7 separate regions of the Homo sapiens genome follow, and all the other regions are linked to region 2. Evidence: promoter capture Hi-C in 16 types of primary human blood cells and fetal thymus (Javierre and others, 2016). All regions are on one chromosome and are shown on one strand. The core of a region is centred on a gene start or on the middle of the fragment in contact, and the rest is flanking DNA. Distances in the headings are between cores, read along the strand shown.

Region 1 (3,292 bases), core at 233-2,732, 430 kb before region 2:
ATGGGTTGGGAGCCCTGTGCTGCTCCCTGAAAGAAGTGTCATTACTTGAGTATGTGGCTTGGCCCCAAACCTTCTAGGTGGTTGTGCAGCCAATTTGATGGGCTTATTACCTGTACTGGGCTTGAAGCTTGTAGAGAAATGGAAGTCAACCCTCTTCCAAAGAAGAGAGGCAGAAGGCCAGTCACGGTGGTTCACACCTGTAATCCCAGCACTTTGGGAGGCCGAGGCGGGTGGATTACCTGAGGTCAGGAGTTCGAGACCAGCCTGGCCAACATGGTGAAACCCTGTCTATACTAAAAATATAAAATTAGCCGGGCATGGTGGTGCATGCCTGTAATCCCAGCTACTTGGGAGGCTGAGGCAGGGAATTGCTTGAACCTGGGAGGCGAGGTTGCAGTAAGCTGAGATCGTACCATTGCACTCCAGCTTGGGCAACAAGAGCGAAACCCCGATACACACACAAAAAAGAAGAGAGGCAGAAGGCCGGGCACAGTGGTTCACACCTGTAGTCCCAGTGCTTTTGGAGGCCAAGGCAGGAGTATGGTTTGAACTCAGGAATTTGAGACCAGCCATAGTGAGATCCCAATCTCTACAGAAACCAACCAACGAACAAAAACAAATTAGCTAGGCATGGTGGCATGTGCCTGTGGTCCCGGTGCTTTGGGAGGCCAAGGGGGAGGATCCCTTGAGCCCAGGAGTTTGAGACCAGCCTGGGAAATATGGTGAGATTCCATGTCTACAAAAAATAAAAAATTAGTTTGGTGTGGTGGTGCACACCTGTAGTCTCAGCTACTCAGGAGGCTGAGGTGGGAGGATCATTTGGCCCTGGGATGTCAAGTGTGCAGTGAGTGGTGACTGTGCCACTGCACTACAGCAAGGGTGACAGAGCGAGACCCTGTCTAAAAAAAGAAAGAAAGGCACTGGGCGCGGTGGCTCACGCCTGTAATCCCAGCACTTTGGGAGACTGAGGCGGGTGGATCACGAGGTCAGGAGATTGAGACCACCCTGGCTAACACGGTAAAACCCCCGTCTCTACTAAAAATACAAAAAATAGCTGGGTGTGGTGGCACGTGCCTACAGTCCCAGCTACTTGGGAGGCTGAGGCAGGAGAATCACTTGAACCCAGGAGGTGGAGGTTGCAGTGAGCTGAGGTCGCGCCACTGCACTCCACCCTGGGTGACAGAGCAAGACTCTGTCTCAAAAAAAAAAAAAAAAAAAAAAGAAGAAAGGCAGTGAACAAGCAACACTTTTCAAGGAACTGAACAAGGACGCATGTGCTCAAGTTAAAGTATCTGTAAAGTATCTGAACATGGACACGTGTGCTCCAAGGAAAGTACAAAGTTAACCCTATACTAAATATCTGTCCTCACCCCTCCTTGAATCTGTATGACATCTTTACTCTCCAATCATCTTTCTACTTGGCTTGTTTAAATCTCAATATAGCCTAGTGAGAAAGAAAGGCAAGTGAGGAAATCAAGAGATTTGCTCAACATCACACAGCAGCTTAATCATGGTGCAGATCCCAGGCCTCCTGCTGTAGCACCCAGTGGCCCAGTGCTGACTACTGCCCCTAGCAGGTTCCATGGGCAACTCCTGCCCTCTGAGGACTCTCAGTCCAGGATGCATACCCAGGATGTATGTGTGAAGCAGGATGATGTTAGGGTGGCAATGCAGTGTCAAGGACAAGATCTGATATCATCTCTGTTAGCTCCATCAGGCCCGTGATCTCAGGACAGCCACTCAACCTCTCTAAGCCTCAGTTTCCTCATTTGTAAAATTAGGTTAAAATGATATCCACCTATACGTTGAAAAACTGTAAATAATGGTTGCCTCTGGAGTGGGTTGTGGGGCTGGGTGCTGGGTAGGAGGAAGACTTTCTTTTCATTGTATATCTTTATACTGCTCAATTTTATAATCATAGGGCAGATATTATTAATTCACTGATAATACTAATTAAAATACAAAAACTGCTGGTGCGATGGCTCATGCCTGTATTCCCAGCACTTTGGGGGGCCAAGGCGGGCAGAATACCTGAGGTTGGGAGTTCAAGACCAGCCTGCTCAACATGGTGAAACCCCGTCTCTACTAAAAATACAAAATTAGCCAGGCGTGGTGGCACATGCCTGTAATCCCAGCTACTCCAGAGGCTGAGGCAGGAGAATCTCCTGAACCCTGGAGGTGGAGGTTGTGGTGACCCAAGATTGTGCCATTGCACTCCAGCCGGGGCAACAAGAGTGAAACTCTGTCTCAAAAAAAAAAAAACCAAAAAAACAAAAACAAACAAACAAACAAAAAAAACTAGCCAGGCATGGTGGCATGTACCTGTAATCCCAGCTACTCAGGAGGCTGAGGCAGGAGAATCACTTGAACTGGGGAGGCAGAGGTTACAGTGAGCCAAGATTTTGCCACTGCACTCCAGCCTGGGTGACAGAGGGAGACTCTGCCTCAAAAAATAAAATAAAATAAAATAGATAAAATATAAAATAAAATAAAATTCGTTACGGACTAAACATCCGTTCTTGCCTGACTCAGGGTGGAATCCTCCTACCCTCCTACCTTTGTTATGCTACTGCCTTCCTTACAAACCCCTGTTAAAGATCAAGTGGAATAATATTTTTAAGGGTCTCAAATTCAAATACTGTCAGGGTTCAGATAGGCAAGTGTGCGAAGTGGTGTAGGTCACTGGGAGTGGTGCAGACTATGGAAGATTGAGGAGTGCATGCCCTGGCTAGAGGTGTTCACATGCAATTTTTATCCAGGGAGTGAACTGACAGTTTGTGATACTCAACAACAAATAAATAATTCAAACTTGGATCTGGTCTGACTTCAAAGCTTTTTCTACTATGTCATTTGGTCTTGTCCGAAACCCTAGTTCCCTTTTTCTTTTTTTTGAGACAGAGTCTCACTCTGTTGCCCAGGCCGGAGTGCAGTGGTGCGATCTCAACTCACTGCAACCTCCGCCTCCTGGGTTCAAGCGATTCTCCTGCCTCGTCTCCTGAGTAGCTGGGACTATAGGCGTGCGCCACTATGCCTGGCAAATTTTTGTATTTTTAGTAGAGATGGGGTTTCACTGTGTTGGCCAGGCTGGTCTCGAACTCCTGACTTTGTGATCCGCCCACCTTGGCCTCCCAAAGTACTGGGATTACAGGCCTGAGCCACTGTACCCAGCCTCTCTTTTTTTTTTTTCCTTGAGATGGAGTCTCACTCTATCACCCAGGCTGGAGTGCAATGGTGCAATCTGGGCTCACTGCAATCTCTACCTCCCGGGTTCAAGCAATTCTCCTGCCTCAAC
Region 2 (3,325 bases), core at 188-2,687:
AGGCAGGGATAGGAAAATTCGGGTAGTTTCAGTAAGAGCAAAGAAGACAAAATGGCAGGGGCAAGAGTAGAGGAAGGAATGCAGAGGATTGGGAGGGACTGGAGTCCAGGCTCTTCCCCTAAACAATATGAGAGAGAGCCCCAAACCAGCCTGTCTCCAGATTTTCTTCCCTCCTGTGCCCCACCCAGCAAAGAGCTGCTGTTCACCCATGGGGCTCCAGCAGGGATCTCTGGGCAAGGGTGATCTTCAGGGACAGAGCTGCCTTGGGTTGAATAGGGCCACAGTGGCAATGGCGATCATGGGAGTAGCTGGGGCCCAACACAGGAGCCAGTGGCTAGGAAGCAGGGGCTGCAGCCAGAGTCTCTGGGGCTGGCATCAAAGGACTGTTTGGAGTAGAATGACATCGTGCTTACTGGGTCGCCCCCATTGGGTCTTTCTGGTCTGAGCCTGCCTGGAGGCTTGCACTCCTGGGGAGGGCTCAGCCAGCCTTGTTCTTGGCTCACTTGGGCCTGGACAGAGGCAATAGGAGTTAAGTTTCATGTTGATAACAGCTTCTTTATTTGAACTCTAAACAGATGATTACTGTCCTCAAGTTGTTCCTAGTCTTATTAGCAGATACACATTGGAGGAGAGACAGAAATGAGGAAGTGGACCACCCAGGAATCTCCATAACCCTCCAGGCCATGGGCCAGCCTCTGTCTTTGTCTTCTCTGTACCTCCTTCCAGTCAAGTCCCTGAATTTCTCAGCCACCTGCCCCAACTCCATCCTCCTTTTCTCGTCCTCATTTTCTCCAGTGTTTGAAGCCTCCAGCCTGCTTTATTATGGGTGTTTGAGGGGGGAGAAGTGAGGATAGTGCCCGTGGTTGGCTCTGGCCTGGGCTGCTTCTGTCCCATGCTAGCGAGAGGGTCACTCCACCTCCTAATACCCCATGAGTGAGAGCAGCTGCCCTCTATGGGTTATGTTTCCAGGAGGCCTGGGGAGAGGTAATGCCTGATCAGTCCCTTTCCAGGAAGGAGGAGAACAGAAGTTGGAGGCCCCAGTACTCTACCCAGTGTCCTGAACTATCCAGGAAAGTCCATCCTGTCTTCACCTGCTGCATCCCCAGGAGGAAGCCAACAACCCAGAGAAGATTAATCAGGATAGGGATGGTGCAGTGCCAGTGACATCCCCCTGGAGAGGCCAGGGCCTGGGGCAAATTACCCTATAACAGCAGGTTAATTAGATAAGACCCAAATTACATGAGCAAAGCTTGCAAGCCCAGCAATTTGAAGGTTTCATGTTGTTTCAGAGGTGGAGAGGGCTTGATCTCTAGCTCAGCATAGAGAAAATGACTTCTTGCTCCCAGGCAAGCCAAACCCACGAATTAAGCTCTTGACTGCCCATCCACAAGCCCCAGTGCCAAGCACATATAAAGGCACCTGCCAGTCCTCACTACAACCAGCAGAACCTTTTGGGATTTTGCCTTCCTCCCTCCTGCATCTGAGCTTTGTCTCCACCAGCAACATGAGCCGCCAATTCACCTGCAAGTCGGGAGCTGCCGCCAAGGGGGGCTTCAGTGGCTGCTCAGCTGTGCTCTCAGGGGGCAGCTCATCCTCCTTCCGGGCAGGGAGCAAAGGGCTCAGTGGGGGCTTTGGCAGCCGGAGCCTCTACAGCCTGGGGGGTGTCCGGAGCCTCAATGTGGCCAGTGGCAGCGGGAAGAGTGGAGGCTATGGATTTGGCCGGGGCCGGGCCAGTGGCTTTGCTGGAAGCATGTTTGGCAGTGTGGCCCTGGGGCCTGTGTGCCCAACTGTATGCCCACCTGGAGGCATCCACCAGGTTACCGTCAATGAGAGCCTCCTGGCCCCCCTCAACGTGGAGCTGGACCCCGAGATCCAGAAAGTGCGTGCCCAGGAGCGAGAGCAGATCAAGGCTCTGAACAACAAGTTCGCCTCCTTCATCGACAAGGTGGGTCTTCTAGGGCCTGGGGAACTTGTGAACAGCCCTCCTCTTCTCTTCTTGGAACATACGATTTTGTTACAGCAGGAGAGATTGAGGTTAGATGTGAGGAAGACTTTACTGTGGACAAGGTAGGTACATCCCATCAACAGGGTGACCTGTGTAAGGTTCTCTGTGTTGTCTTTCCAGAGAGAAAACAGAGGCAGGTCAATTTCTACTGGCAGAGGCTTCTCAGGGCTCCCAGCAAGAGATGTGGTCCTTCCTCTTGAGGGCTAGCTTGGTGCCATTGCTAGGCCTGCAGGCCGTGTGCAGAAAAGGCCTGTGAGAGCCAGTCTCGCCCAGAGTAAGCAGGGAAGCTGTCCTCCTCCCCTGGCATGCTGCCCTGCCCACTGGTCACTTGCCCAGCGGATCAGGAGCAGCAGGAAGGGGCCGCTTCAGGCCCTCTGATTGGGCATTTGCTCCAGTCAGTTGAAGACTTTCTTGAGAGGCAGAAGAGGGCACTGGGGAAGGGGACTCCACGGTGCTCTTGTGCTCACTGCTGGCCACAGCTGAGTGGCTCTGGGAAGGTGATCTGCCTGTCTGTGTTGCCATCTCCTCATCTCTAAAATGGAGATAATAACTTCTGTCTTGGGGTTGTTGTCAGGCTTATAAAAGAAAATGCAGGTGAAGATCTTGTCACAAGCCTGACGCACACTAAATACTCCAAAAATGATTGTGATTGTGACTCTCATTTCTTATCTCTGGAATGTGGGGGAGGGAAGCTCAGGGGAGGAATCAAAGGTGTCTAGAGACCTGAAGAGATGACACAGTCCAGATAGGCCCCTGACTTCTGGCAGAGAAGAAATGATTATCCCTATCGTATGAGTCACTGAAGGCATGGAGGTAAATGGCATTCCCAGGGTCATTTGGGGAAAGGGAAGGGTGAGGCTGGACCCTCAGCCTTTTGCCTCCAGACCCAGAGGAGGAGACTGGAGGGTTCTGTTGGCTCTGTGGCAGTCAGGCACCAAGGACGGGTCAACCCAGGACAAAGTCTATGGGTGAGACGGTCATGTGGCCATCAGAGCTTAGCCAGCTCCTGCAGCTCAGACTTCCTGCCTGGAGGAGTCCCTGCTGCCCTCGGCTCAGCCTCAGGGGCTAGGACTGGCTCTGCGGCTTCTTATTCTTCTAAGCCTTTTCATATCTGCAAGATCAAAGTGTTCTGAGATGGGGTCTGGGTGATGGGAGTGGACTGATTGATTCTTGGCTCGGCTGGTCAAAACCTACAGAAGGATAAAGTCTGGAGACATGGGAAGAAAGATGAACATGAGGAGGGTCACATCCTGTTTATAAAGATGGTCTGCCCAGAGGGAGGGGAAGGAGGCTGAAAGGCTTGGACAGTTCCCAAATAAT
Region 3 (3,212 bases), core at 496-2,995, 410 kb before region 2:
AGGCCAGTCATTCCTGGTGATCCCAGGTAGTAAATTAATTTATTCATTTTGTCATTACATGTGATAACTGAGACTTCAGATATCCACTCTCAGATCCCTTCCTTGAAGGTATCATCCTGAATTCTAGTTGCAGGAAATAAACTACTCTAGCTGGTGGGGATCCTGAAGCTGACTGAACCCATGAACACAAATTGCAGCTGTGATCCATGGATCAGGAAACCACTACTGCTCCTTGTGGTTCAACTGTCTCACAATACTCAATACCTACAAAGCAAATGACTGGACACTGGACACTGCTCCAGAAAAATCCCACAGCCTCATGACCAGACGTGCTAGCAGGAACAATCAAAGCAGCAGAGGAGGGTCTTCACCTCACTTCCACTTTCCGAATCGTATTCATCTGCATCTAATTAGTGCGACATAATTCACTTCCTAGCTGCAAGGACATCTGGGAAATGCACTTTTTAGCTCTTTGGTTTCTGAAGCAGAAAGGTACCAATTTGGAATGGAGCTGAATGCCAATCCATTCCAACTACTGCCTTTGGATTTTGCAGCCAGACTGCCTGGGTTTGAATTCTGGCTTTGCCATTTATTTAGCTGTGAGACCTTAAGGAAGGTAGTTTACCTTTCTGAGCCTCAGTTTCTTCACCTGTAAAATGAGGATTGTAATACTATCCGTCTCATAGGGTTGTTGTTAGGATTAAGTGAATTAATATATGTAATGTGCTTAGCACAGTGCCTGACACATAGAAAGTGCTCAGTAAATACTGGTTACTGGCCAGGCGCGGTGGCTCATGCCTGTAATCCCAGCACTTTGGGAGGCCAAGGTGGGTGGATCACCTGAGGTCAGGAGTTTGAGACTAGCTTGGCCAACATGGTGAAACCCCATCTCTACTAAAAATACAAAAATTAGCCAGGCATGGTGGTGCACGCCTGTAATCCCAGCTACTTGGGAGGCTGAAGCAGGAGAATCACTTGAACCTGGGAGGCAGAGGTTGCAGTGAGCTGAGTTCGTGCCATTGCACTCTAGCCTGGGTGACAAGAGTGAAACTCTGTCCCCCCCAAAAAAAACCAAATACTGGTTATTATGGTAATTGCCATTGTTATATGACCAATCCAGGATGACACCAGGATGAAGAAAACAGGGTAGGCTGGGTGCGGTGGCTCACGCCTGGAATCCCAGGACTTTCAGAGGCTGAGGTGGGCAGATCACCTGAGGTCAGTAGTTTGAGACCAGCCTGGCCAACATGGTGAACCCCCCATCTCTACTAAACATACAAAAATGGTTGGGTGTGGTGGCGCATGCCTGTAGTCCCAGCTACTTGGGAGGCTGAGGCAGGGGAATCACTTGAACCCAGCAGGTGGAGGTTGCAGTGAGCTGAGATCACGCCATTGCACTCCAGCCTTGGCAACAAGAGTGAAACTGTCTCAAAACAAAACAAAACAAACAAACAAAAAACAATAACACAAACCAAAGAAACAAAAAAATAGGGTACCTGTCTTCAAGGCATTTCCAGTCTCATGGGGAAGATGACATAAATAGCTAAGTATGCCACATGATGAAATGAAACAAAGGCAGTTGGAAAATATAGCACGGTTCTGAAGCTCAAGAGAGGCTAGGGCTGGAGGTAAATATTGAGATACCAGCTCAGAGGTAGCAACAGAGTCAGGGAATAAAAATAAGATTGTCCATGGCCAGGCACGGTGGCTCACACTTGTAGTCCCAGCACTTTGGGAGGCTGAGGTGGGTGGATCACTTGAGGTCAAGAGTCCAAGACCAGCCTGGCCAACATGGTGAATCCCCATCTCTACTAAAAATACAGAAAATTAGCTGCCTGGTGGTGGGTACCTGTAATGCCAGCTGCTTGGGAGGCTGAGGTAGAAGAATCGCTTGAACCCCAAAGGTGGAGGTTGCAGTGAGCCAAGATTGTGCCACTGCACTCCAGCCTGGGCGACAGAGTTAGACTCCATCTCCAAAAAAAAAAAAAAAAGGCCCAAGAAGAGAAAAAGCTGAGGACAGCCTGCAAGGCCTGTGTTTAAAGGGCAGATGGATGAAGTGCAGCAGGCAGAGGTGAGAGGACTGCGGAGCGCAGTGGTGTGCAGGTCAAGAGCAGAAGGACATCAGGGTCAAGTGCTGCAGAGGCTGAAAAAGATGAGGAGAGAGGGGAGGCTGCTGGACTTAGACTGGTGGCCTGTGAGGGCCTTCAGTGGCAGGGTGCAGGGGGGATGAGGAGGAGCTTTGGGGCAAGGTACGTTGGCAGTCGACCCTTTCCCAATGCCCTGTGGGCCCCAAGGAGACCTAAGGGTACATACAAGGGCAAACCTGAATGTGCAGGTCGGGGGCTGAGAGATGCTGCTCATACACCCAGGACCCATCCTCGCTGCTGATCCCCAAGATATGCCAGGCTAGGTCCCTCATCTCCTTCAGTCTTGGCCCAATGTCACTTCCTGCCCAGGCTGCCCTACTTAAAACTGCAATCTGCTGGCCAGGCGTGGTGGCTCACGCCTATAATCCCAGCACTTTGGGAGGCTGAGGCAGGTGGATCACCTGAGGTTGGGATTTTGACACCAGCCTGATCAACATGGAGAAACCCCCATCTCTACTAAAAATACAAAATTAGCCTGGCATGGTGGCGCATGCCTGTAATCCCAGCTACTCGGGAGGCTGAGACATGAGAATCTCTTGAACCCGGGAGGCGGAGGTTGCAGTGAGCTGAGATTGAGCCATCGCACTCCAGCCTGGGCAACAAGAATGAAACTCCATCTCAAAAGAAAAACAAAAACAAAAAATCCTGCAATCTGCTGCCCCCTTCCTATGGTAGGCTGAATAATGGTCCCCTCCCATCCCAAGATGTCCATATCCTAACCGCCCCTCTTTGCCTGTGAGTTTCCTTACACAGCAACAGGGACCTTGCCATGTAAATCAAAGATCTTAAGTTGGGGAGATTATGCTCATTGTCTGGGTAAATCTAATGTCATCAAAGGATCCTTATAAGAAGGAGGCAGAAGGGTCAGAGAAAGGAGATGTGAGGATAATGGAAGCAGAAGTCAGGAGAGAGGGAAGTGGGGAGAGATTTGAAGATGCTGGCTTTAAAGATGGCAGATGGGACCAAGTCAAGGAATGCAGGTGACCTCTAGAAGCTGGAAAAGTCAAGGAAACCAGTTCCACCTACAACCTGTAGAAGGAAAATAGCTCTGCAGAAGCCCTGATA
Region 4 (3,447 bases), core at 48-2,547, 360 kb before region 2:
ACTCAAGTCCCCAGTACCGCTGTCTTCACTGTCAGGAGTGGGACCCATTTGTGTCTGTCCTCTCGCAGTCTCTGTCTCTGTCTCTGTGGCCCTGGCCAACGGTGGTGGAGTTTCAGGTTCTGGGGACTGAACCACTCTGTTTTCCTTCCTGAGGGACAGAGTATATCACCCTTTCTAAGCAGGAACCTGCAGTGCTGTGGATTTGAGCTCTGGCCTATTTCCTCTGGGAAGAGGAAGAAAGTGTGTTCCTAAAGGTCTTGGTGTTGGGACCAGAGCTAAAGCCTGGTGCCTGACTCTGGCTGTACCGAGGAAGCTTTGAAAATGCAGACGGGGTGCGACCTGAGCACGTATACTGTTATAATCTCCCACGGGCGATCTTGATGTGATGGAGAACCAGAGTTAAGGGGAAGGACTCTGTGGACTGAGCCATAGCTGGGACCTTCCGCCTAGGCTTCATGCTCACCCAGTGGGATGACCTTCTTGGTTTGGCATCAGTGGAGAGGAGGGTGAGAGAATGTTGAAAATGTGAGAAAGGCTGTGTGCAGTGGCTCACGCTGTAACCCTAGTACTTTGGGAGGCTGAGGCAGAAGGATTGCTTGCATCCAGGAGTTCGAGTCAGGCTGGGCAACATAGTGAGATCCTGTCTCTAAAAAAAAGAAAAAAAAGTGTGGGAGACCTCAACATCTTCAGGCTGCTGGGCTTGTGTCTCCTTCCTCCACAACAAGGCTGTGCTGTCCTCCCTCACTCTTGTTCTAATAATTTCTAATCATATCTCTTATCACAAGCAAAATTTCAAACCAGAGAACATTCACAGATTTTCATCTTCAGTGCGTAAAGCTCTATGGTGGTGGATGTGGATCAAAAGCTTTCAGAGTTGGCGGGACTTGGACATTCTAATTCAAACCCTAGCAGATGTGAGAACCCCCTCCCACTGAGCCAGTGGACAGCTGGTGAGCAAGGTCCCTCTCCATGTCTCCAGGTACAGGAGGTTGCTCCCTCTCTAGGCAGTCCATTTCCATCCTGGCTGGCTTTAATCATCAGATCCATCACTGATCAAGAGCAAAAAAGTCAGCATTTGCTAAGCTTTGACAATGAAAAATTTTAGCCTTGAGGCACATAACACAAAATTAGCAATCGAATTGACTCTATTATTCATGATGCTGCTTCCTGAGGGGTGTACCCACCACCTGTGGCTTCCTATTTAAACAAATTGTTCTGCTGTCTCTATGCTAAATGCAGCTATTTCTATACCAATAATAACATTTCAAAATGCTCCATCATTTAAAGGGATTTCGGGTGCTTTTCGGGCATTGCCTTAACCCAGAGGCAGGAAGCCTCTTTACCTGGGGCATCTAAACAAACTCTTTGCTTCTTTCCCCTGACCCCTTATGCTGGGCACAAAGCCCCTGCTTTTTATATGTAGCTCATTTATGCTTTTGTGGTTATCTTTTTGTTACAACTTTGTTGAGCTGTAATTCACATACAATATAATTCAACAATCTGAAGCTTGCAGTTCAGTGATTTTTAGTATGTTCACAGACTTGTGCAGCTTCACCATCATCAAATTTGTTTATTTATTTATTTATTTTTGAGACAGAGTTTCACTCTGTCTCCCACGCAGGCTAGAGTGCAGTGGCACAGTCTTGGCTCAATGCATGCGGCCTCAACTTTCGGGGCTCAGGTGATCCTCACAACTCAGCCTCCAGGGCAGCTGGGACTACAGGCGTGTGCCGCCATACCTGGCTAATTTTTGTATTTTTTGTAGAGACGGGGGTCTCATTATGTTGCTCAGCTGGTCTCAAACTCCTGGGCTAAAGTAATCCTCCTGCCTCGACCTCCCAAAGTGCTGGGATTATAGGTAGAGCCATTGTGCCTGCCCACCACCATCAAATTTAGAACATTCTCATCACCCCAGAAAGAAACCCTGTGCTCTTTAGCATTCATCTCCATTCCTCCCCTCCCTAGGCAACCACTAATCTACTTCCTGTCTCTATGCTTTGCCTGTTGTGCACATGTCATATAAATGGAATCATAGGGTACCTGATCTTCTATGACTGTCTCCTTTCACTGAGCATACGGGTTTCAAGGCTCATCTGCATCCAACATGCATCAGTAGTTCATTCCTTTTAATTGTAACATTAGATCGTATGGATATGCCACATTAAAGAAATCCATTCGTCATTTGGTGGACATTTGTTTTGTTCCCACTCTTTGGCTATTATGAACAAGGTTGCAGCGAATGAGATCATCAGTCCTGATCTCTAAGCAAAACTTGTTCAGATCCCGGGAGGCGGAGCTTGCAGTGAGCCGAGATTGCGCCACTGCACTCCAGTCTGGGTGACAGAGCGAGACTCCGTCTCAAAAAAGAAAAAAAAAAACTTGTTCAGACCATCTCTTCCCATGATCATGAGTGATGATAACAGCTACCTCCCCACCCCACTGGCCCCAAGACTTAATGCCACTGCTCAGGGTCTCAGGGCCTTCTCTGAATTATCCTGCACCATCAGAAGTAGGGGGCCTGGCCCTCACTCTTGGCCCACAGGGAGTGAGTGTCTCCTCCTTCCCTGGTTCACTCTCCAGGAAAGGCGGTTTGAGGCAGAGTTGTCTGGGTAGGGCAGGCACCGCAAACACGTTGTTCCCTTTTGTCCGGCAGGCAGCTGTGTGTAGACCACAATGCCTTACAAGGAGTTGTACCTGTGGGCCTGCTCCAGTCTGGTTCTCTCTTCCCTCACCACTTGGCCCTAGTCCCAGGGGCCTTCTCCTTCTGCCTTTAACCCTGAAGTCCCAGGCAGGGGCCATCAGAGAGGCCAACTCTGGCCTCTTCTCCTGCACCGAGGCTGTGCTTGGGGCATCTGGGGGAAGGTTTGGCTGGGGTCTCTGGGCAATAGAGAGATGACAAATGAGACACAAACACTTCTGGCCCTAGACGGTTCTGGGCTGCCCCAGAAAAAAAGGGCTTCCCCTGGCTGGGTAAGGTCTGGGTCAGCCCTCCAGCCTGCATACTGCAGGGTCCCTGGCAACCCCCTCTGTCCTCACCTTAAACAAGGGACACTCCTAGAACCAGGGAACCAGAAAGGTGGGGTGGAGGGGACTGGAATTTCAGGAAAGGCTTTGGGGTGCTGTTTTTTTGCTCCTTGTGCTGCCTAGATCAGGACCTGAGTGCCCCCTGCTCCCTCTAACAGCAGCGTGGGGGAGGGAAGATAGGGAGAGCGCCTGTCCTCCCTTTCCAGGGCTGCCATACCCGTCTGACCAGCCCCTCCCTCCCTCCTTCCGCCTTCCCTGTCCCAGGTTTGGCACTGGGCCCAGTCCTTCTCCCTTTGGTCTTCTGTTAAAAGCTTCTCAGCCCTGGTGGGTGCGGGTGTTTGTTGGGGAGGGGGTAGCATGCCTTCCAATCACTCTTGGGAAAATTAGGCATTGTTTAAAGGAGCTGGGAGAAGGCCTGGTGTA
Region 5 (3,196 bases), core at 525-3,024, 390 kb before region 2:
GGACCCAGTCTGATATCAAGACTTCTGGAATTTCAGCACCCTATTTGGAGTCCCTGGCACTGCCTGTGGAGGTGGGAACGGGTTCTCAGGGCTTGGGCCAGGCCCTCTTCCCCAGGGGTGGGAGAGTCGAGGAATGCCCTGACACTTAGTATCATTGCTTCGGTTGGGTTTGTGCCCTAGGGGTTATTTTCCAAGGATAAAGGAAGAGGAAGGGTCAGCGCTGAGAAGCGTGTGGCTGCCCAGAAACCTCCAGGCGCTGAAGCTCAGAGAAGTCGGGGAACCTGGCCCTTCTAGGAGCCCCTCAGCTCCCTGGCCCAGCCCCACCAGGAATGGCCTTGCCTGTGCTTATGTCCTTTGCCCATTCTGACCCTGGTGCTGTTGGCTTCTCCTCAGGTGCAACCCCAGTATCCCAATGCCATATCCCCCAGCCTATCGCCTCACTCAAATCTGCCCAGAGATTAGGGGAGGGCAAAGGGATGAATAGGGCACTTGGTGTCAAAAGACCTGGATTCGGCCAGGTGGCTCATGCCTGTAATCCCAGCACTTTGAGAGGTTGAGGTGGGAGAATCGCTTATGGCCAGGAATTTGAGACCAGCCTGGGCAGTATAACAAGACCCTGTCTCTATGAAATAATAAAATATTTCAATATTTCACAATATTCCCCACTGCTGGCTTAGTGATCTTGAGCAGCCTTTACTAGCTTGGTCTCTCCTCAGCTGTAGAATGAGAAAAATAGTAATATCCACTTAGAGAGTTTTCATGAGGACCAAATGAGATGACGTGCCTGGAAGAGCTTTGGCAGCTGAGAAGCCAGCTGACCTCCCCTCCTGTCTGCTTTGCCCCATTTGCTCCTTTTCTTCCCAGCCCCCTTGTTCTTTTGCACTTACTACTCTCCAGCCTTCTGCTCCCTGCTCACCACTATTTTTTTCCATCTAACATGGGCTCAGGGCAGGGTGGCTAAGACTGAGTCTTTGAAAAGGGGGGTGAAATGGAAGAACAGAGTGGCCAAGAACCTATCTCCAGATCATCCAGTCAGCCGGCTCTGTCTCTGTCAGCCTCTTTCCTGGCCTAGGCTGGGCAGGTTCTGCCAGCAGTGTTTAGGGAACTATCCTGTGAGCAGCTAGGAGAGCAGGGCTGGAGCTTGGGAGAGGCATGGGGCAGGAGGTATGGATGCCAGGGTCACAGCTAACCTGCGGGGCCTTTACACAAATTGCAGAGAGGGAGCCTCTTCCTTGTTTCCTGGCAGGGTGTGCCTGTACACTGAACACCCTGCACGGCCACGTGCAACGGGCCCACCTGGAGCATCCCCCTCAAGGATTTGGGTGAAACCCAGTTGTGGGTGAGGTGGCCTAAGGGAAAGGATCAGGGAAAAGAAGGAGCAGAGTCAGCACAGAGGGACTTGAGGCAAGAAGAAGAGGAAGAGACAGAGGGAGAAGAGGAGAAAGAGGAGAAGGCCTAGATCTCTAAGTTCCCAGGAAGAGACCAGGAGAGAGGACGTCATGAAAGCCAAGAAGAATGAGGTTCAAGGAAGGGGGGCCCACAGGGCCAGGTGCACAAAAGGATCAGGGAGGCTGAGGACAAAAAGAGCACTTTCAGTAGAGCGATGGAGCCTGGAGCCGGGGTGTGGACTGAGAGGGAGGAGAGAGAGGACCAAGTGGAGGCAAAATGTAGACTTTTCTTTCAAGCAGTTTATCAGCGACGGACAGGAGAAATCGGGAGGCCAAGCGGTTGTTAGGTCGCAGAACTGATGGACGGTTGCCTTAGGATGAGACAGTTTAGTAAAGCTGATCAGTAATTAAACAAGCAATAGCACTAAAGTGTGGTTGGTGCTATGCCTGGGTGAGTCCAGGGAACAATGGAAGCCCAAATCAGTAAACACTAATCCTGCTTGAGATTCTGGGGGAGTGGAGTGACATTTAAGCTGCAACCTGAAAAGTGATATCCTAGTAGGTGGCAGAGCTGGGATGTGTTGTGTGTAACCTCTCTAGGCTCCTTCCTCCCCAATCAGAAGCGTGTGGCAGAGGCAGGAGGACACCGTGGCACATTAGGTGAACTCTGTGTTCTAACCATGAGGCATAAGAAGGTGAGTCAGTGGTCTTGAGATCCCAACAGCAGTTACACAACATGGCTTCATGATGAGACCAGCCACACAAGAAACACTGCGTATCCTGGGGGTGGGAGAGAAAAAATGGTGGGCTTCACTGAGGGATGAGAAGGCAGGAGAGGTGGAAGCTCAGGGACAAAGAAGCCTTAAAACATGGCTGAAAGGGCTGGGCCTTGGGTGGGGAAGCAAAGGCAAACAGAAGAGTTTAGTGGAAAAGGAGGAAGCCCGGGACTGAGGTGGCACGGCAGTTGGAAGCTGCAGAGAAAGCACAGGAGCGTGAGATGGGGAAGGTGAGAGAGAGTATCAGAATCTGGGGTCAGAGCAGCTGGTGATGTCACTTCAGGGTGCTGAAGGCACTGAAAATCATGGGGTTAAGAATCTTTGGGAAAAGAGAGGATGGAGAAACAAGATTTTGGAGTTGGACAGATCTCAGTTTGAATCCCAGCTCTGCTTGTTTCCTTGCTAGGTGACCTTGGTCAAGTTGGGTGCCTAAGTTGGGTGCCCAAGTCGGCGAGCTTCTCTGATCTCCAGCTTCCTTATCGGTTTGTTGCAGAGATTAAGCATGTATGATAGGGCCTGGGGCGGAGCAGGTGCTTGTTAAGTGTGCCTCCTCCTCCTGGAAGAATCATCAACATGGAGCTTTAAGGCTGTCGGTTTAGTTCACTTCCACCAATAGTGACCTGGGAATACAAAGATAAATACAACTAGACAATAATAATCAAGGAGATTATTATTAGAGGGAACAGATCATTGGACAAACAAAATACAGTGTGATTGGTGCTATGACAAGCTCCAGAGGACTGTCAGAGAAAGGAAGAATTCATTAATTCATTAACGCTTTGTAAGGCACCTAATGCCAGCATGGTCTAGGATCTGAGAATACAGCACAGAAAAGCCACAAGGTTGCTGCTTTCATGGAGCTTGCGTTCTACGTGCTGAAGGACTGGGGTCATGGAGAACTTCACGGAGGTCAAATGAATGCTCAGACAGGGCTTCAAAAAGTGAGTAAAAAGCCAGGCACGGTGGCTCACACCTGTAATCCCAGTATTTTGGGAGGCTGAGGCGGGCGGATCACCTGAGGTTGGGAGTTCG
Region 6 (3,228 bases), core at 439-2,938, 340 kb before region 2:
GGCTGGTCTTGAACTCCTGACCTCATGATCAACTCACCTTGGCCTCCCAAAGTGTTGAGAGTACAGGAGTGAGCTACCGAGCCTGGCCCAAACAATTTGGGAGTTTGATAAGTTTTTTTTTTTTTTTTTTGAGACAGTCTCACTTTGTTGCCAGGCTGGAGTGCAGTGGCATGATCTCGGCTCACTGCAACCTCTGCCTCCTGGGTTCAAGTGATTGTTTGGCCTCAGCCTCCTGAGTAGCTGAGACTACAGGCATGTGCCGCCACAACCAGCTAATTTTTGTATTTTTAGTAGAGACAGGGTTTCACCATGTTGGCCAGGGTGCTCTCGATCTCCTGACCTCATGATCCGCCTGCCTCAGCCTCCTAAAGTGCTGGGATTACAGGTGTGAGCCACGATGCCTGGCCAGCCATCTATTTCTTTTTCTGCAATTTTAACCCTTTTAAACTCTTTCCTTTTGGGGAGATATATTAATTTGCTCAGACCTAGTCCAGAAACAGCTGGTGGATTGATCTTTGAAAGTATTTCCCCATGAAGTGGCCTTGAAGAGATTCTGGACCACACCCAGCCCATGACAGCAACTGACACTCTTTAGGTGCCTGAGGAAGGGGTGAGCAGAACAGAGTTAGGGCAGAACTTGGCTTGCAACATGTCTAGAGTGTGTGCCTGGTGCCTGGGAGCTGGGGAGGATGGTGGCAGAGGAGAATACAAAGACACATAACACAGGATCCTTGTCCTCAAACTCTTTCTAGCTGATCTGGAAAAACAATACATATTCCAGAAAAGTCAATTTCATTTGTTCAGTCATTCAGCAAACATTGGGCATCTAGGGTGAACCAGTCCCTGTCTCAGGCACAGGATGGAGGAGGGACTAGGTGTTTGGAACATGGCAAGGTGAGGAAGAGTGTGCATGGTGGACTCTGGGGATTTAGTGAGGCATTGAACCCTGGTGGTCCCCTAATACCTGTTCTCCCCTTTTCCTCAGTAATTAGAACCCTATTTTTTATTTGGGCTACGGCTTTCTGGAATAAAGACATTTTCCTGCATTGTTTATGATTAAGCTGTGGCCATGTTTCAAAGGGATAGAAGTAGAAGTGGAGGGTACAGGGTCTAAGAAGTGTCCTTAGGCCAGGCGCAGTGGCTCATGCCTATAATCCCAGCACTTTGGGAGGCTGAGGTGGGCAGGTCACCTGAGGTCGGGAGTTCGAGACCAGTCTGACCAACATGGAGAAACCCCGTTTCTACTAAAAATACAAAATTAGCTGGGCGTGGTTGGTGGCGCATGCTTGTAATCCCAGCTACTCGGGAGGCTGAGGCAGGAGAATCACTTGAACCTGGGAGGCGGAAGTTGCGGTGAGCCGAGATTGTGCCATTGCACTTCAGCCTGGCAACAAGAGCGAAACTCCGTCACAAAAAAAAAAAAGTGTCCTTAAAGGGAGAGGAAGTGTGAACTGCTTCTTTCGCCCCTCCTTTCTGCCAGCAGGAATGCACGCATAATGGCCGAAGTTTAGCAGCCATGTTGGACCATGAGTGACCTGGTGAATGGAAGTCATCCTTGGCCGAGCAAGAAAGAGGTGGGATCTGGGTCCCCTCCATAAAGTAGTGCCATACTGGCCTTGGACAGACTATCTCTATAGGTCTGGGAATTGAGAGATAAATATCTGTCTGGATTGAGCCACTGCTTTTTTTTTTTTTTTCTTTGTTACTCCCAGCTGAAGCAAATCCTAAGACTGAGCACATCAGCTTGTCTCAGAGGTGTGGTTGCCAGAGGTGGCTGGGTGATGAGCAGAGAAAACACTGGCGGGGAAGCAAACTGGCTTCCACATTCTTGGCTTGCTCTGGGACACTTGGGAAATCCCTGCCTTCTCTGGGCCTTGGTCCCCTTTTCTTGAACAAAGAAGAGGGGCTGGACTTGGTGCTTTTCACAATACCTTTGAGCCAACCCACTTTATTCTCTGGACATTTTGGTGGGTCACAGAGGCCTGGGATGCAGGGCTGAGATATTTGTAGTTGATCTCAGCAGCAGTGGGTGACGTTGGAGATTGTTTTTCTTTCTTTTCTTTTCCCTTCCCTTCCCTTCTCTTTTTTTTATTTTTATTTTTACTTTATTTTATTTTATTATTTTTTTGAGATGGAGTCTCTCTCTGACACCCAGGCTGGAGTGTGGTGGCACAATCTCGGCTCACTGCAAGCTCCGCCTCCCGGGTTCATGCCATTCTCCTGCCTCGGCCTCCCGAGTAGCTGGGACCACAGGCACTCACCACTACGCCTAGCTAATTTTTTATATTTTTAGTAGAGATGGGGTTTTACCGCATTAGCTAGGATGGTCTCGATCTCCTGACCTCATGAGCCGCCCGCTTCGGCCTCCCAAAGTGCTGGGATTATAGGCGTGAGCCACCGAGCCCGGCCCTTTTCTTTTCTTGTTTCTTTTTCTTTTTCTTTTCTTTTCTCTTTTATTTTCTTTTGAGATGGAGTCTCATTCTGTTGCCCAGGCTAGAGTGCAGTGGCACGATCTGAGCTCACTGCAACCTCTGCCTCCCAGGTTCAAGCAATTCTTGTGCCTCAGCCTCACCAGTATCTAGGATTACATGTGCGCGCCACAACACCTGGCTAATTTTTGTATTTTTAGTAGAGATGGGGTTTCACCATGTTGGCCAGGCTGGTCTTGAACTCCTGACCTCAGGTACTCCACCCACCTCAGCCTCCCAAGGTGCTGGGATTATAGGTGTGAGCCACCTTGCCTGGACTGTTTTTCTTTTTTTGTTTTTCTTGAGGCATGGGGAATAAGGAAGGGAGTTGATGGAAGCAGTTTCAGGAAGATGGGCCCTGGCATCCTCTGCAAGGGACACATGATTAAAGTCAGCACAGTGGGATAAGCCCTGGGTGAGGGGGCAGAAGACCTAGGTGGGCACCCTGGCTCTGCCAGTCACACAGGATCTATGACCCTGAGGATGTTGCCTCCCTGCTCTGAACTTCAGTTTGCTGCCAGTGAAATGGGGACAATCAGATTGCAGTGTGTTCATGAGGATTAAAGGCAGTAATGTTTATTAAGGTGATGCACGTAAAGATGTTTTGCAAACTATAAATAAAGATGCATGCTCTTTCCCTTAGGATCCCCTTCGAGATGAACTATCTCTCTGACCCCTTCTGTGTCCCTCACCCACCCCAGGGCAGCACATTCACTTTCCATAACCTCTATTCAGGTTTTCTTTTTCTTTTTTTCATTTT
Region 7 (3,573 bases), core at 882-3,381, 370 kb before region 2:
GGCTCTGGCCTTGTTGCCATGGCCACCCCTTAGTTTGGGACAAACAGAGCTCTTCCTCCTCCTGTTCAGCCTCCTAACACCCAAGTGTCTCCCTAGGGACAGGCAGGAATTCCAAGTGTCCAGGCTCCCCACCCTTTCCCCAGGGGAGGCCCAAGGGTGGTGAGTCACTGAATCTGGGCCCCTCTTCACCCTCTCACTGTTCTCTGGCTTGTCCTGCTGCTCCCTTGGGCCCACCTATTTCCTGCTGGAGTTGGGGAGGGGTGGAGAGAAGGACTGGAACTCTCCTGGGTCTATCAAACTGAGTGGTGGTGAAGGTGAAGGGGTCTTCCTGTCCTGAATCTCCTCCCTGGGGTGTGTCCAGGCTGTGGACACCCTTCTGAGGCTTAGCTCCCATCTCTGGTATCCATGAAACAATCACAGCTTCTTTCCTCCCTTGGGGGGAATCCTTGGGGTCCAGGGTAAGGGACAGAAGATAGGAAAAAAGCAATGTGGGAGAGAGGAGATAGGGTCAGAGTAGAGAAGAGGACTCATGGGATAGAATTGAATCATTCATTCATTCATTCATTCATTCATTCATTCATTCAGTGAATCAAACAAGTTCCTGTGCTGGGTGTGGAGGGAAGCAGAAACATGTATAAGACACGCCCCTACTTTTGAGGAAGATGCCTTGGCGCTGATGTGCGGGCCCTGGACTTAGGGTACAGGACTCCGGTTTGAGCTCTGACTACTACTTGCTGGGCACATTACTTCTTAGAGCCTTGGATTCCTCATCTGTAAATAAGGATAAGAAGACTGAACTCCCAAGGTCCTTGTGAGGGTCAAATGAGACAAATATGGAAAATGCCTCATTAATAGTGGATGTTCAGTGCATGCTAAATGACTGTGGATCAGGTTTACAATCAGGGAGGGGAGCTCAGACATGCCCACAGCAAGTGTAACCCAGCCCAGGGGTGTAACAAAGCCCTATTCTTGGGGTCTCTATAGGAGTGGCCACTTCCGGCAGAGGTGACTGGGGCAGGCTTTGTGGGGAGGTGCCTGATGCATGATTTTCATTCAGCAAATGTTTGCGGAATGAATGGGGTGAGCTGGAGCCAGGACCTGCAGGAAGGGTAAGGTTTCAACAGGTGCAGGTGACAAGGAGGTGCTTCAGGAGAGGAGGGCACAGTCCTGGGGGTGGGGTGGGGAGGGCAGCTAGTGCCAGGTGGGGAAGGCTAAGCCTCAGCCACCAGATGAGGAATTTGACCTTTATTCTGAAGGCAACGGGAAGCTCTGGGCTAGGGAGTGACAGGATCAAAGCAGTGTTTGTAGAAGATCAGTCTGGCTGGGCACTGGAGAGGATACCTGAGCGAGCAGGAGAGGTGGTGGGGGGCGGGGGGCAGGGACACACCAGGCAGAGGGACAGTGTGTACATGTCTAGAAGTCTCAGGACAGGCAATTATGTCACCCCCTTCCACTCTGCAGAGGGGGCCTCTCGCACCAGCCTGTCTCCAGGGCAGGTCTCACCAGCCTGCTAGGAGGGAGCTTGAAAGGGAGGTGGGGAATTTCTCAGGGACACAGAGAACATGAGAACACTGCCTCCTTTCTCCTCCTTCCTCCCCTACCTGGGGCCCAGCTCAGAGTAATGGGCCCTGAGGGGGAGAGAAACGCAGCCCTGGAACTGGAACCTGGGTCCCTTTGTTGGTAGGCTCCACCTCCTGTCCTCTAAGATAGAGGGCTGGAAGAGACAAAGAAACTATTAGGCCCCATTAAGAACTGTGCATAAACCCTAGAACTCAGGAACAGAGGGATAATTGAGGTGATAGTATTGCCCAGCCCTGGAGCCCAACTTTCCTTGAAGGGGAAATTTCTGGCCTGGGGCTGGCTGGTAGGAATCTAAAGCCTTAGCCTTTGTGGAGATGAATCATCCTAATCTATCTCTTTGACCCCACCTCCGCCAAAGAGATCCCTTTTGCTCCAATCTCATTCCTGAATGTGCCACACTTCAGGTATCAATGGGGCAAGGCCAGGATGACGGAGGGGGATACCTGCAGGGGAAGAGGTGTTGAGCAGGTTTCTGAAAATGGTGACCATTTCAGACCCTAAATGGCGCCATTCATACCTAAGTGCTGAGTGGTCTCACAGTTTTAGGTATGCTTCGGGGCCCACAGTCTCTCCCAGCCTCCAGCCCTGACTCAGCCTGAGCCCCTGGGAGCCAGAGATAGCTATCCCAGCTATTCAGAGGAAGGAGATAAGGTTTATGGCTCTGGACAGGCTCACCCTGGGGAGACTGTGCATACACACCTCCTCCAGCTGCATTCCTCCCGGTCCTGACCTTGTCTTACTCAGTCTTTTCCTGGAATTACTACAGGAAATAGTGAGCTGTCTGAACGCACCATTTTCAGAAAACTGCCTAGCACCTCCTCCCCTGAAGGTATCCCCTCAATCATCCCGGCCTTGCCCCATTGAGGTCTATACAACATCTTTTTCTTGGCTTCTGGGCAGGCCTGATCCCATCTAGGACCAGTGAGAAGGGGGCCCAGCCCTGTTCCTTTTCCACAGACGCATCCTCCCCATTCCTGGTCACTCATTTCTGCTCCAATGACTCCTTGAATTAGTAAGTCCTTCCTTCAGTCTACCCTTTCACTCCCTTTCGGTGCTTAGTTAAGGAGAGGATGCTCCTCTGTGCGTTGGCTGTTGCCGCAGACCACAGAGTACAGCTGAGGGTCCACTTCACTCCAGGAGCCCTTTAGCTGAGGGGAGGAAGGCAAAAGACAGAAGGAACGGTGAATTCTTAGAGAAGAGTGCATGGTCTTTTCCCATCACAGTAGTGTCCTATACAGTAGTGTCCTATACAAGCAATTATCTTTACAAATTACAATTATCTTTACAATTATCTTTACAAACATTATCATCATATAATTTATTTTATTTTTAAATTTTTATTTATTTTTTTGAGACAGGGTCTGGCTCTGTCGCCCAAGCTGGAATGCAGTGGCCTGTCATAGTTCACTGCAGCCTCAATCTAATTTATTTTACATATGAGAGAACAAAAGCTGAGAGCCCAAATCAAGTATGATTTTTTTTTTTTTTTTTGAGACGGAGTCTCCCTCTGTCGCCCAGGCTGGAGTGCAGTGGCGCAATCTCAGCTCACTGCAAGCTCCGCCTCCCGGGTTCATGCCATTCTCCTGCCTCAGCCTCCCTAGTAGCTGGGACTACAGACGCCCGCCACCATGCCCGCCTAATTTTTTTGTATTTTTAGTAGAGACAGGGTTTCACCGTGTTAGCCAGGATGGTCTCGATTTCCTGACCTTGTGATCTGTCTGCCTCAGCCTCCCAAAGTGCCGGGATTACAGGCATGAGCCACTGCGCCTGGCCTAATGTATGATTTTAAGTATAATGCTTTTGGCCGGGTGTGGTGGGTGGCTCACAACTCGGCTCATGCTGAGGCAGGCGGATCACCTGAGGTCAGGAGTTTGAGGCCAGCCTGGCCAACATGGTAAAACCCCGTCTCTACTGAAAAAATACGAAAATTAGCCAGGCGTGGTGGCGGGCGCCTGTAATCCCAGCTACTCGGGAGGCTGAGGCAGGAGAATC

The links. Contacts are between HindIII fragments. The CHiCAGO score rates a contact against its expected background, and 5 or more counts as called.
Region 1: a fragment that was not itself captured here is called in contact with the fragment with the promoter of KRT71 in region 2 in 4 of 17 cell types (M2 macrophages, M0 macrophages, naive CD8 T cells and 1 more); the score reaches 6.5 in M2 macrophages.
Region 3: a contact is called between a fragment that was not itself captured here and the fragment with the promoter of KRT71 in region 2, in 4 of 17 cell types (naive CD8 T cells, M2 macrophages, M0 macrophages and 1 more). The highest score is 7.2, in naive CD8 T cells.
Region 4: a fragment that was not itself captured here is called in contact with the fragment with the promoter of KRT71 in region 2 in 5 of 17 cell types (naive CD8 T cells, naive CD4 T cells, total CD8 T cells and 2 more); the score reaches 7.5 in naive CD8 T cells.
Region 5: a contact is called between a fragment that was not itself captured here and the fragment with the promoter of KRT71 in region 2, in 2 of 17 cell types (M1 macrophages and M0 macrophages). The highest score is 5.6, in M1 macrophages.
Region 6: a contact is called between a fragment that was not itself captured here and the fragment with the promoter of KRT71 in region 2, in 8 of 17 cell types (naive CD4 T cells, M2 macrophages, naive CD8 T cells and 5 more). The highest score is 8.0, in naive CD4 T cells.
Region 7: a fragment that was not itself captured here is called in contact with the fragment with the promoter of KRT71 in region 2 in 2 of 17 cell types (naive CD4 T cells and M0 macrophages); the score reaches 5.5 in naive CD4 T cells.

Annotation. Positions count from the first base shown.
Region 1 is chr12:52,982,590-52,985,881 of GRCh38, reverse strand. No RefSeq gene overlaps it. Among named protein-coding and RNA genes, the nearest start is that of EIF4B, 22 kb to the left of the region's middle. The HindIII fragment of the contact is 2,705 bases long and covers 130-2,834 here.
Region 2 is chr12:52,551,257-52,554,581 of GRCh38, reverse strand. It overlaps KRT71 (keratin 71), which reads left to right and starts at 1,437. Exons shown (of 9, transcript NM_033448.3): 1 at 1,437-1,945. The coding sequence starts at 1,505. The HindIII fragment of the contact is 3,012 bases long and covers 1,252-3,325 here.
Region 3 is chr12:52,959,745-52,962,956 of GRCh38, reverse strand. No RefSeq gene overlaps it. Among named protein-coding and RNA genes, the nearest start is that of KRT18, 12 kb to the right of the region's middle. The HindIII fragment of the contact is 7,526 bases long and covers 1-3,212 here.
Region 4 is chr12:52,907,157-52,910,603 of GRCh38, reverse strand. It overlaps a transcript of KRT8 not described here. Among named protein-coding and RNA genes, the nearest start is that of KRT8, 3.8 kb to the right of the region's middle. The HindIII fragment of the contact is 423 bases long and covers 1,086-1,508 here.
Region 5 is chr12:52,941,707-52,944,902 of GRCh38, reverse strand. It overlaps a transcript of KRT8 not described here. Among named protein-coding and RNA genes, the nearest start is that of KRT18, 5.8 kb to the left of the region's middle. RefSeq lists an enhancer at 554-1,148. The HindIII fragment of the contact is 3,648 bases long and covers 1-3,196 here.
Region 6 is chr12:52,886,726-52,889,953 of GRCh38, reverse strand. No RefSeq gene overlaps it. Among named protein-coding and RNA genes, the nearest start is that of MIR9898, 11 kb to the left of the region's middle. The HindIII fragment of the contact is 4,525 bases long and covers 1-3,228 here.
Region 7 is chr12:52,923,948-52,927,520 of GRCh38, reverse strand. It overlaps a transcript of KRT8 not described here. Among named protein-coding and RNA genes, the nearest start is that of KRT8, 21 kb to the right of the region's middle. The HindIII fragment of the contact is 7,195 bases long and covers 1-3,573 here.